Linked DNA regions of Homo sapiens: regions 1 and 3 are each linked to region 2. The links are contacts of gene promoters, found by promoter capture Hi-C in human tissues and cell types (Jung and others, 2019). All regions are on one chromosome and are shown on one strand. Each heading gives the region's core, a stretch centred on a gene start or on the middle of the fragment in contact. The rest is flanking DNA. Distances are from core to core; before and after follow the strand shown.

The links. Contacts are between HindIII fragments. The study calls those that stand out against the background at their distance.
Region 1: a contact is called between a fragment that was not itself captured here and the fragment with the promoter of RNF152 in region 2, in 2 of the 25 tissues and cell types used here (hippocampus and thymus).
Region 3: a contact is called between a fragment that was not itself captured here and the fragment with the promoter of RNF152 in region 2, in 1 of the 25 tissues and cell types used here (hippocampus).

What each region holds. Positions count from the first base shown.
Region 1 is chr18:61,492,213-61,495,841 of GRCh38, reverse strand. The region is part of intron 2 of CDH20 (cadherin 20); the gene reads right to left. Among named protein-coding and RNA genes, the nearest start is that of CDH20, 160 kb to the right of the region's middle. The HindIII fragment of the contact is 7,772 bases long and covers 1-3,629 here.
Region 2 is chr18:61,890,819-61,894,319 of GRCh38, reverse strand. It overlaps RNF152 (ring finger protein 152), which reads left to right and starts at 1,313. Exons shown (of 2, transcript NM_173557.3): 1 at 1,313-1,525. RefSeq lists a silencer at 1-127. The HindIII fragment of the contact is 14,100 bases long and covers 1-3,501 here.
Region 3 is chr18:62,175,011-62,178,769 of GRCh38, reverse strand. All of the region lies in intron 1 of PIGN (phosphatidylinositol glycan anchor biosynthesis class N), which reads left to right. Among named protein-coding and RNA genes, the nearest start is that of PIGN, 10 kb to the left of the region's middle. The HindIII fragment of the contact is 4,111 bases long and covers 1-3,759 here.

The DNA.
Region 1 (3,629 bases), core at 776-3,275, 400 kb after region 2:
TCACACCTGGTTTCAGCAGGGAGAATTTGGAGTGGAGGGCTGAAAGGCCAGAAGGAAGCCCCGAGGCATCAGAGAGAGAGCGCAGCTCCAGGAAAAACAGCCAGTGCCCCTCTGGCTGGGGCAACACACAAGGGAGGTGGGGATTCTGGCATCTGCAGGTTTGGAGCGGAGCCCCTTGAGGCTGGGCCTGAGACCCCTGAGGAAGCAGTGCTGCTCCTTGGGCTGGGGCCGCAGGAGCTTCGAGGAGGTGCCCCTGTTCCCTGGGACTCAGACCTCTTAGAAGTAGGTGTGATGAGGAGCAAGTCACTCCTCCCTCCTCCTGCCTCCTGGGCTCCCTCTAGTACCTTCTACCGGCAGGCAGAACCTACCTGGGAGAGGAGATGGTTGGAAGAGGAGAAATTACGGCTTGGAGAGTTTCAGCCCCAGCACCCAAAGCAGAGTATGGAAAGGTGAGCATGGGGCTGAGAGACACCAGCTTAATAACCCGTGCAGCAATGCACATTTAATATTCCGCTTTACCAGCCGTAGAATACACATTTGGTTTCAAAAATGGCAAAGAACAGACATTAACAGCTTTTCTCCAAGTCACTCAGCAAATTGGCGGTGTAATAAAAATGTGTTTTATATTTGCCCATATTTAATTCAACTAACACTGACTGCGCACCAGCTATTTGGAGGAAGGTAAGAAGCTTCCGAGCAGAGTCAGCAGCACAGTTACGTACATCTTGGGAAAATGTTTTTTTTCCTTCCTAAAAAAATATTTTAGGCAGAATAAGACAAGTGAATGTCTCACTTATCCTAATCATTCTTTAGTTTTTAAGATCTTCAGCCAAGGGAGTAGTGAGTGATGGGAAGTACAAGCAGGTCCTGAAGAATCTTAGCTGATTGAGGATTTCAAAAACAAGAATGATGTTCACTCCTTTTGTCATCTTTCAGAGTACCTTGAGTAATTTCGAGTATGCAGTGAGTGCTTACAGTTTGTGGTTAGGCAGCTTCCATGTAGTTGTTAACCTCGGCATGATTTGGACCCACAGATTCGTGCACAAGCTCTCAGCATCCCTCTCTTTGCATATGTCAATATAATCTAGCTTTAACTTGACACTGCCTTGTCCCTGGAAAGCCCAGTGTGGATTTTGTAAGGCCATACCAATTACAGCTGATAATTGCTGCCATACTCCTTTCTGAAATAAGCAAATACTCTGGCAAGCTCTCTAAACAGACATCTTCCGGAGCTCAAGGTCGCAAGCAGAATGCCCCTGGGTAAAGAGAATGAAAGTGGATGAATTCCCTTTCAAAAGAAAGTAAAAGGGAAAAGTGAATATATAATTATCTTCTTCATGTAGAGGTAACACACCTAATGCAGGCTAAAAATCTTCGCTTGGTTGCTGGTATGAGGATTGGATCAGATGACTGTTGAGATGCATGGGTGTCTTGTATCTTGGTTGGGGTTATTTGGAAAGGGCGAGCACTAATTGTGAGTATGCAAGGGTGCTACACAGCTAAGAACTACCCAGCATGAGAGATCAAGGGTTCAGGAAGCAGCCTGGCTCAGATTCCTGATCCCACCTAAACACCACTGACTCCTGTGTGTGTCCTCTGGGCTTAGTCTAAAGCCACTGACCACAGACAAGGCAATGTAAATGAAAGCTGGGGCTTTGGGGTAGGAGTGATGTGTATTTCAGTCTGGGCTTCCCTGCTACCTTCGGTCTAACTTTGGGCAATGAACATAAATAACCTCTCTGAGTCTAGCTCCCTGTGTTATACTCACCTCACAGCATTGTTATGATGATTAAATGATCTGCTTTGATGTGATTGTGACCGACACATAGTACTGTGGTAGTCCAATAAAACGTGAGCTACCCTTCTGCACTCTTTGTGTGTGGCCAGTTCTGTGCCAAGTACTCAGCGTCAGGGAGGTGTAGACAAAGTTGGTGAGTGGCGTCTCAATTTCTACCCTTGGGAGGAGGGAAGAGAGCCCTAAATTTTATGTGCACATAAGTAATTACTGAAAATTGCTGAATACAAACATACTCTTTTCTTGAACTTGGCAGTGGCCATGTATGTCTATTTGGAAGAAATGTTATATAGATATGGAGAAGCTAGAAGTCTTTGGAATTCTGAGTAGATACAAGATATGTTCATGATAGAATTGTCTGATTTTAAGCTAAAACTTTGAGGAATTTGAATGTGGCCTGATGAGCGGAAGTCAGGGCCTGTCCTGGGCAGGGCAGCAGCGTGGGCACACATGTGGGGTCAGGGACAAACGTGGTATGTGTGGCAGAACCAGTTAAGGAGGTCCAGCTTGATTGGGATGAGGACCTGATTTGAGAAATTGTGCACGAGGGCTGAGTGAGGGAGGAGGAAGTCCCTGAACTGCATGCTAGGAGCTCTGATAGCATTCAAAAGCACTGTAGTGCTTTCTTAATCAGAGGAGCAACATGATGGAAAGGGTGCTTCAGGGAGAGGAATGCGCTGAGCATCCTGGAGGAGGGATGGGAAGAGTCTTTTCACAGGGAGACAGGCAGCACCGGCATAGTTAATCTAATCAGGAAGAGCAAAGGATCATGGTCATGACCGAGCCTAGAGAGGAGGAGATGCATCCGAGAGAAACTGGCACAGAAATATTGGCAGATATGGGGACCGATTGCACGTGAAGGTAAAAGGAGATAAGGAAAGGAGAAGTCAATGAAAAGTCACAGGTTTTGAGGCCAAGGGATTTGCAGCTGCATTAGGTATTACTGAGCGTTGAGTTCCCATAATGAACTCCTTAAATGCTGTTACTATTACCACTATTAATACTATTGCTACTATAGTACTATTTACTACTACAGGTTAAGGATAATTAAAGTTTTACTCTGGATTAAGTACTGTGCAAAGTGCTTTACATGCATTAGCTTATTTAATCCTTACTCCACAGTGAGACATTCATTTATTAAATGTCATCTTGAGCACCTTCTATAAGATAAATGCTGTGTTAGGCCTTGGGGATAAAATGGGAGCAATGTTCTTGCTTTCATTGAGCTTCTAGTTTTAGTCAGAGGCTTCAGACAATAAACATGTAAATAAGAAACAAATATGGTGGTTGTGATTAGGGCTGTGAAAGAGAGTCTAACAGAGGGGCTTGCCTTAGAGAGTGGCCAAGGAAGTCATGAGAGAAGCCAGGGGAAGGGCATTTCATTATGGGGGAGCAGTAAAGGCAGTGCTTGACAGGTTGTAGGAACTGTCAAAGGTCATACCGCTGCAACGCGAGAATGAGGGAGAGAGTAGCATGGGCCATGGGTGGATGCCAGGAGGCAGGCTGATCCAGAAAGGGATGGTCTTGTTAGCTGTGGGGAGGTGTCTGGAGGATTCAATGCACAGTGGGAAAACATTGAAGAGACGTAAGTAGAGGAGTGACATGATGTGACTTAAATTTTAAAAAGACCATGGTGGAGAACAGATGGGAGGGAGGTGCAGGTGGACATGAGGAGACTGGTTGGGAGGCTAGGTACTTGCCCAGGTGACAGATGATGGTGGAAGCAGGGATAAGAGAAATGCAGGATTTGGGGTTGATTCTGGCATAGGACTAGCAGAATTTGCAGAGGGAGAGAATGTGTGGGCAGGGGAAAGGGAGGAATGATCCCCAGTTC
Region 2 (3,501 bases), core at 64-2,563:
CGCCGCCGCGCTGTCAGCGTCCGCCCCGTGGCTCTCGGCCGGAGGAGCGGCGGCCGCCGGCCCGGGGCGCGAGTCTGGCTGAAAGGAGCGGGCGCGCCGGGACCACCCGGCGATGCTGTCGCCGCCGCCGCCGCCTCTGTAGCGAGCACCCGAGCCCGCCGCGGAGAAAGGTCAGTGAGTTTCGGTTTGTTTCTCTGCTCTGCCGGCTCCGGATCGGGGGCGGACAGAGGGGTGCGCAGGGATGTCTGCGCCCCTACGGCGGCCGCGCCGAAGCCGTGGAAGCGGGAAAGGGCAGCTGCCGCCTGCTGTAACTGGGGAGATCTTCTGGACCGCGGAGGGGGTGGCGGGGCCGCAGGGTCCCGGGGAGGGGAGCGCGGGGTCTGGCGGGGCACGGGGGAGGTGGTCCCGGGAGTTGCGTGTCTCCTGAGAGCTGGCGGAGTTGGGCGGGCGGCCGCGGCGGGGAGCGGCGCTGTCGGCTGCTCGGCCGAGTCCTCGGATGCCCCCTGGAGCTCCGGTCCGAGGGAGCTTTCCTCGTGCCCGCGCCGCGCGCGCCCCTGGGTGTGCACGTGCGCGCGCGCCCGCCCCAGTTGCGCCCCCGGCCCGCACACACCCCGGCTCATCTTCTCCCGGTCCCCTTGTCTCGCGCCTTCTCCAGCCCTAGAAGTTGCCCCAGGGCCCCTCCCGGGATTAGAGAGCGCTGTGAAGGGCCAGATGTTGGGGGTCTTTTGTGCAGACACACGCGCCTGGGGCGCTTGCTCCTGGAAGGACAGCGGCAGGACAAAGCCAGCTGGACTCGTGGGGCGCTGCTCGGGAAGCGGCGGTCCCCAATCCCGCCTGGGGTCGGGGCATGGCTTGGGGAGCGCTGCCTGGGTCTGGAGAGAGTAGAGAAATCGCCAAAGCAGAGTGACGGTGACTTGATGAGGTGACGGTGACTTGATGAGGTGGCGGTGACTTGATGAGGTGGCGGACAGGGGCAAACGAAAGAAAGATGCTCGGGATTGCCGCGCTGTGTGCCTGTCTGCGCGGCTGACTAGGCGCCCCGCATTCCCATATGACCGGGTTACCTGGTAGATTTTGCCAGTGTGTCTTTGCCCCAAGATGTTATTCCCCACCTGCTCCGATTTCTTTCTTTCCTAGGGCTTACTGTTGCTAGTAGGCGCTCTGCCACCAGAGGGGAACTCGTGGGCGGGGGAGACTGCGGAGGAGGGGGGAGGTGGTTATTTATCCTGTAGAGACAATTAGGAGCCGTGACGCCCCCTTCTCGGCCGCCAGCCCTCCACACCTCATCTGCCTTGCTCCACCTCCCTAGTGCACCCGCTCCAGCCCCGTCTGCCCAGGAGGGCGCTTGGATTTCCTTCTCCGCGGCGCGTATCTAACCCTTCCTGCATGTATTTCACTGCAGGCTGAAGAAAGCTCAGTCTCAATTGTGTTTCCTGCCTGTCAGCCTCTTGCCTCCTAAACGTGTACCATTTCCACTTGATGTCATCACGCAGAAGGGGTGAAAGAGACTCGGTGACAGATACAGGTAACCCCCCACGATCTGGGTAGCGCCTGGGTGTCTCTGGGTCATTTGGGCCGACAGTGCTGGCACAGGGCTGTTTGGGTGGTTTCTGCATCAACATCGTTCCTATCTGTGAGAAGGTGTGGGGGCTGCTAAAACTCCTGGTTCAAAGAAATAAATTGCAAATGACTTTATACCTTCCCTTTGAAGAAGCCATTGGAGGTAGGTGCAGGGTGAATTTGGGATTGTAGAAATCCCACCTGGTTTCCTTTCATGGGAATTTTGATATAATTCATACACAGGCAGTTGTATCTGAATGTTAGGTTTCCATAGATGCCTGCTTTCTTATCTGTAGTAATAGATTTAGGCTTCAGTCTAGAGGTGGGGTATCCTTTGTTGAAAAGGTATCATTGGAAGGCTGATTGTACTTTTGCCCAGTGCTCTAATTGAGCACCGGTCAAATGCAGTGACCTTCGTATGAAATACTGTCTTTCTTCTGTTCCTTCATTGTAATAGTGTTTGCAATATTAAGAGAGACATGCTAGCAGTGAGTACTGGGAGGTGGAAGGGAGGGCTGTTGGGGGCAGCAGAAAGAGAACAGAGAAAACAGCTTGAGTGAAGTTTCCATTTAGATAGCCATGAACCAGTAGACTCTCATTCTGGATTTTATCTTTAGGTTATTGGGGCTTTTCCAAAAACTCTGGCCTGTTCTTTTCTTTCCAAGGATAGTTCTGTTTTGATGTCAGCCTAGCCAGATCTGGGGTTATCTTGATAAGAGTGCAATGAAAAAACGTAACCTTCAGACTTAGCAGGACACTCCGGCATTAGCATTTTCTGCTAGAGGGCAGAGTCCTGCGCATCCTACACTAGTAGCAGGGAATAAGAATGGTTATGGAAATGGGCTTTCGATTTTTCTTGTAGGAAGACAGATTGCTGAGGGCCAAAGGCTCCTGGTCTACTCTCTTTTACATTGCAGTAACACCTTGGTATCTGTGACAGATTCTCTCTTCACCATTTTCCTCCAAATCCCTTGAAAAATGAAGTTAAAAACTTGAAAGATTTATTATTCACCTCCAATGTAGTTTTGTTTTGGAAGGTGACTTTAAAAACATAGGTGACACTAGCATTTATCCTTCTACTACAAGCATTCAGGAGTCACTAGTAAAAGCAGTTGAGTTATCTAGTCCCAGGTGAAACAAAGGCCAGTGCTTTGCAAAGATCAGATGAGTAATGTGGTGCTAAGATAGAGGTATTTTTGACAAGTAATTTTTATGTCAGCAATAGTACAGGGTGTGTACTGTGTTGCTGCAAGAAGAAAAAACATGTGATGGGATAATAGGGAATGTAATAATGCAATAGAAACAAGGGTGTGGTTTTTTTTTTAATAGAAAGAATAAACACTTCGCACACAAAATTCCACATGGCAAAACAGTAGCCTGCCCATGTAAATGCACGTCCAAGAACAAAGATAGCCACAGTGCAGTGTTAGGTTTCATTGTGGTTTTAAATTGTGTACAGTAATAAATCATAATAAAGTGTCCATTGATGCTTAATTTTTTTTATATAAGAAGGAGGCTCCCCACCCTCAGATGTGTTTAGCTTTAGGCTGGAGGATCCCTAGAGGCTATTAGGCTGATCTCTGCCTCCAATGCCTGCTTCCTTTCTACAATGCTCATTTATTCATTTAGCAGATGTTTATTGGCACCTGATAGATAATGGACTCTGTGATAGATAATGGACTCAAGGGGTTGGGGTTGGGTGTAGGGGGAGACACAAAATTGAACTCCCTATAGGAAGACCTGATTCTAATTAACTTCAATGGAAGCTCAAGAGAGGTAGGATTGGACTTCTGGGGAGAGAAAATATGGTCATCCAGCCTCAACTTTAATGCCTCTTTCATTGAGGAGCTCACTGCTTCATAAATGGCTGTTGCTGTTGTCAGAAGGTGGCATTTTCATTGTAGTCTTTTTAGCTGAATTCCATACAGTTCGGTCCTTACA
Region 3 (3,759 bases), core at 676-3,175, 280 kb before region 2:
TTTACAATTAAAAATGACATAAATCTTGATGAAAAAATATATACCCCAGAATAATAAGCAAATGAACTAGTGCTAATTATATGGCTTAATAGTTTATCTGATAATCTTGTGTGCAGGCTCCAAGTACTATCTTACAGTTTTTCTTTCCTCTTCTTCTTTTTTTTTTTTTAAGTGGGTCTTGCTATGTTCCCAGGCTAGCCTTGAATTCCTAGGCTCAAGCAATCCTCTCGCCTCACCCTCCTAAGTAGCTGGGACTACCAGCTCTGTCTTACAGTTTTGGCTGGTTTTACTTCACATCGTAGGTTTGTGTATTTTTAGTAAATGTTGAAGTGGTTAAGAACACAATCTCTAGGTGACATTACCGAAAATGGCAGAGTACGGTGGTTTATTATAAGGGTTAGTTCCTCCACTGAAACAAGCATAAGGGGGCAGAGTGACAGGATCAACTGTTTTGGGATTCTAAAATCTGGTCTGACATTTACAGCAACCAGGAGACTGCATAATGAAGAAGAGGGCAGCTGAATTTCAGAGTGCTGTGGCATTTAATCCACTGGATTACCATCCTCATTCACCATTGTGGCAATGGCAGCAGCTGTGGGGACTATGGCCCACATTTCTGGTGTGACTTGCTTGTATTTAGTATGGACTTTGTTCTTAAAATACTGTGGTTGTGCATTTTGATCTGTCTAGTGGTTTCCTGAGTGACCAATGTAGAGGCTGAATTTTGTCCCATCTTTATCCCCCGCAAAAATTACATGTAATGCATTCCCAGAAAGATCCTGAGAGGTGCCTACGCTTCTACCTTTGGAAGATCTGTGAGCACTAGACAAGCAGAAGGTGAAGGCTAAGGCAGAAGTGTAGGTGGCCAAGCTTAGTGTGAGAGTACTTCAGCTGAGAGCCAGACTACAAAAACTTGGGAGAGTACTATTTGTTTTTGTTTTAGGCATTTAAGGAAATCTAAATCTGCCATTGGCTGATCAGTAAGATAACAAAACAGAGACTTTAATGACCATAAACAAAAGGAATAAAGTCTTTGCAAAAATAGTTTGGAAAAGTTACTAAACAAAAGGCTGAACCCTTCAAAAATCAAAAGAAAATGCCAGAATTCTGGAATCTGATTTCTAGAATTACTGCATTATAATATTCGAAATATAAATTTCAACAGAAAGTTACAAAAAAGCATATAAAGACTCAGGAAAGGATGGCATATTCACAGAAAAAAATAAACAAATTGGTGGAAGCCACCCTTGAGGAAGTCCTGACATTGGACTTAGTAGACAAAGACGTTAATCATCTGTCTTAAATATGTCAAAATGCTATGGGAAACCATAGACAAAGAACTAAAGGAAGTCAGGAAAGTGATGTATGAACGAGATAAGAGCATCAAAAGAGATATAAATTATTAGAATGAACCAAATAGAAATACTGGAGCTTAGCAGTACAATAATTGAAACAAACTGTTCACAAGAGGGATTCAGCAGCAAATTTGAACAGGTGGAAGAAAGAGTCAATGAACCTGAAAATGGGGCAATTGCAATTATAGAAGCAGAAAGAAAAAGAAATGAAGAAAAGTGAACAAAACCATAGGGACCTATGGGACACCATCTTTAATTCATAAGCTTTTTAATATGGTTTATGCCAATGTGAACATTAAATCACTGATAGTCTGTAAGTTTAGCAAATCATGTTTGACAAGAACAAAGGTTACCTGAAATCAGAGCTATCCATAAAACTTGCGGTGGTTTATAATTACAACAGTGTATCTTTTGAGTATAGATTCAGACTCCAATTTTTTTTTTTTTACTTTTTATTTAAAAATAATGTTTAGATCTGTGGAAAAGTTGCAAAAACAGTACAGAGTTCCAGTACACCCTTTACTCAACTTCACCTAATGTAAACATCTTATGTAAACATCATATAATTATCAAAACCAGTACATTAGTATTTGTATAATACTATTAACTACAGATCTTAGTTGAAGTTAACTAGTTTTTCCACTATTTTCTCATCCGGTTTCCCTTGTTGTGTTTAGGTAAGTCTCTTTAACCTCCTCCATTCTTTTACAGAGTACTTGTCCATTATTTTGTAGGCTGTCTCAATTTGGGTCTATCTGATATATTACCATTATTAGATTGAGATTATACATTTTTAACAAGAATACCACATGTTCTTTTGCCAAGACTACCATGTTTTGCCTTTCTCGGTGCATCTGGTCAGGGTTACATGATGTTAGTATGTCTTACTATTGGTTGTGTTAACCATGACCACTTGGTTAAATGGTGTCTGACTATTTTCTCCATTGTTAGTATTTTTCCCTTTGTAAGGAATAAATATTTGGAGACGTTTCTTTAAGACTGCAAATATCCTGTTTCCCTGAAACTTTGATCCATTGATTTTAGCATTTATCAATGGATCTTGGTGGCAATAATTACTGTGATGTTTGCCTAGTTGTAATTTTATATCTCCCTCATTCCTGCTACCTGAATTAATTGAAATTATTCTGTAAAAAAGAGATATGGGATTCTAAACTCATTAATATCTCATTGTATTCTGGTAGAGATAAGGATAATAAGTCATTACTTGTTAAAGCAATTCTCTCTAACATAATGTTAGAGAAAATTATCAATTATATTCTCACTTGATTTTCCTTTCTGGAATTTTAGATACTCTTTTATAGCCTAGTTATATATCTCATTAAATAAGTTATTTAAAAATAAAAATTGCCTGAAACTTCTTGTTCATTTCTTACCTTTTCTTTATCTGAAATTTGAGACAATAGAGCCTGTACTTCCTAATTGAAAGATTAATTAGCTAATGATGGTTCCTAAGATACCTAGGGGGAATTTTAGAAGCTTTCAAGGACTTTTTATTAGCTCTCTTCCTGCCATATTCCCCAAAATAAGTAAAATTTCTCTTTGACTTGATGCTACATTAACTGTACTTTTTAGTGAACTGGGGGAAAATAAATAAAGTTCAAATATATACTCATTCCACCAATGAATCATAAAGTGACTGCACTATGCCGTTAGGTGGTGAGCATGAGTGAACAGAAACACAGTCATTGCCTTCATTCTAGCTTATATTCTAGTCTGAGGATACATATTAGAAACATGCATTTGGCCGGGTGTGGTGGCTTACACCTGTAATCCCAGCACTTTGGGAGCCCAAGGTGGGATGCCATAATGAGGTGAGAGAGGTATGCAGGGCCACGGAGGTAGTGGAAGAACACAGGATATTACTCTTGGAACAATGGAAAGCTACTCACAGACTTTAAGAAGGGAAAAGATGTAATCTAATTTACATTGAAAGGGAAGAAAATGGAAATTTTATGGGGAATGGGTTAAAGAGTTTTAACCTTTAATCTGAGTTTTGGGGTCAGTACCTGTGTATAAAATTCCTGAAGAACAATTAGAATGAAGTATAGTGAACAAGTGAAATGTTCTACAATTTGTAGAGTAAAATATGTAATTACTTTAGATGAAGGGAGAAACTTACATTGTGTAGTTTTCTGCAGTTTGGTAGGGAAACCATTTGGAAGTTGTTGAAGAGGTCCAGGTGAAAAATAATGGACTTAGGTGATGGCAGTGAATGTGGAGAAGTGAAAACACGAGTTCCTTTGAAAACAAAACTCAACTGGACACTGAGTTTTATATATATAATGACATAAACATTATATATATTAGATATATTAAATATATATATTTATTATATATAAAAATATATATTTATAATATATATCTAATATATATAATGTTTATG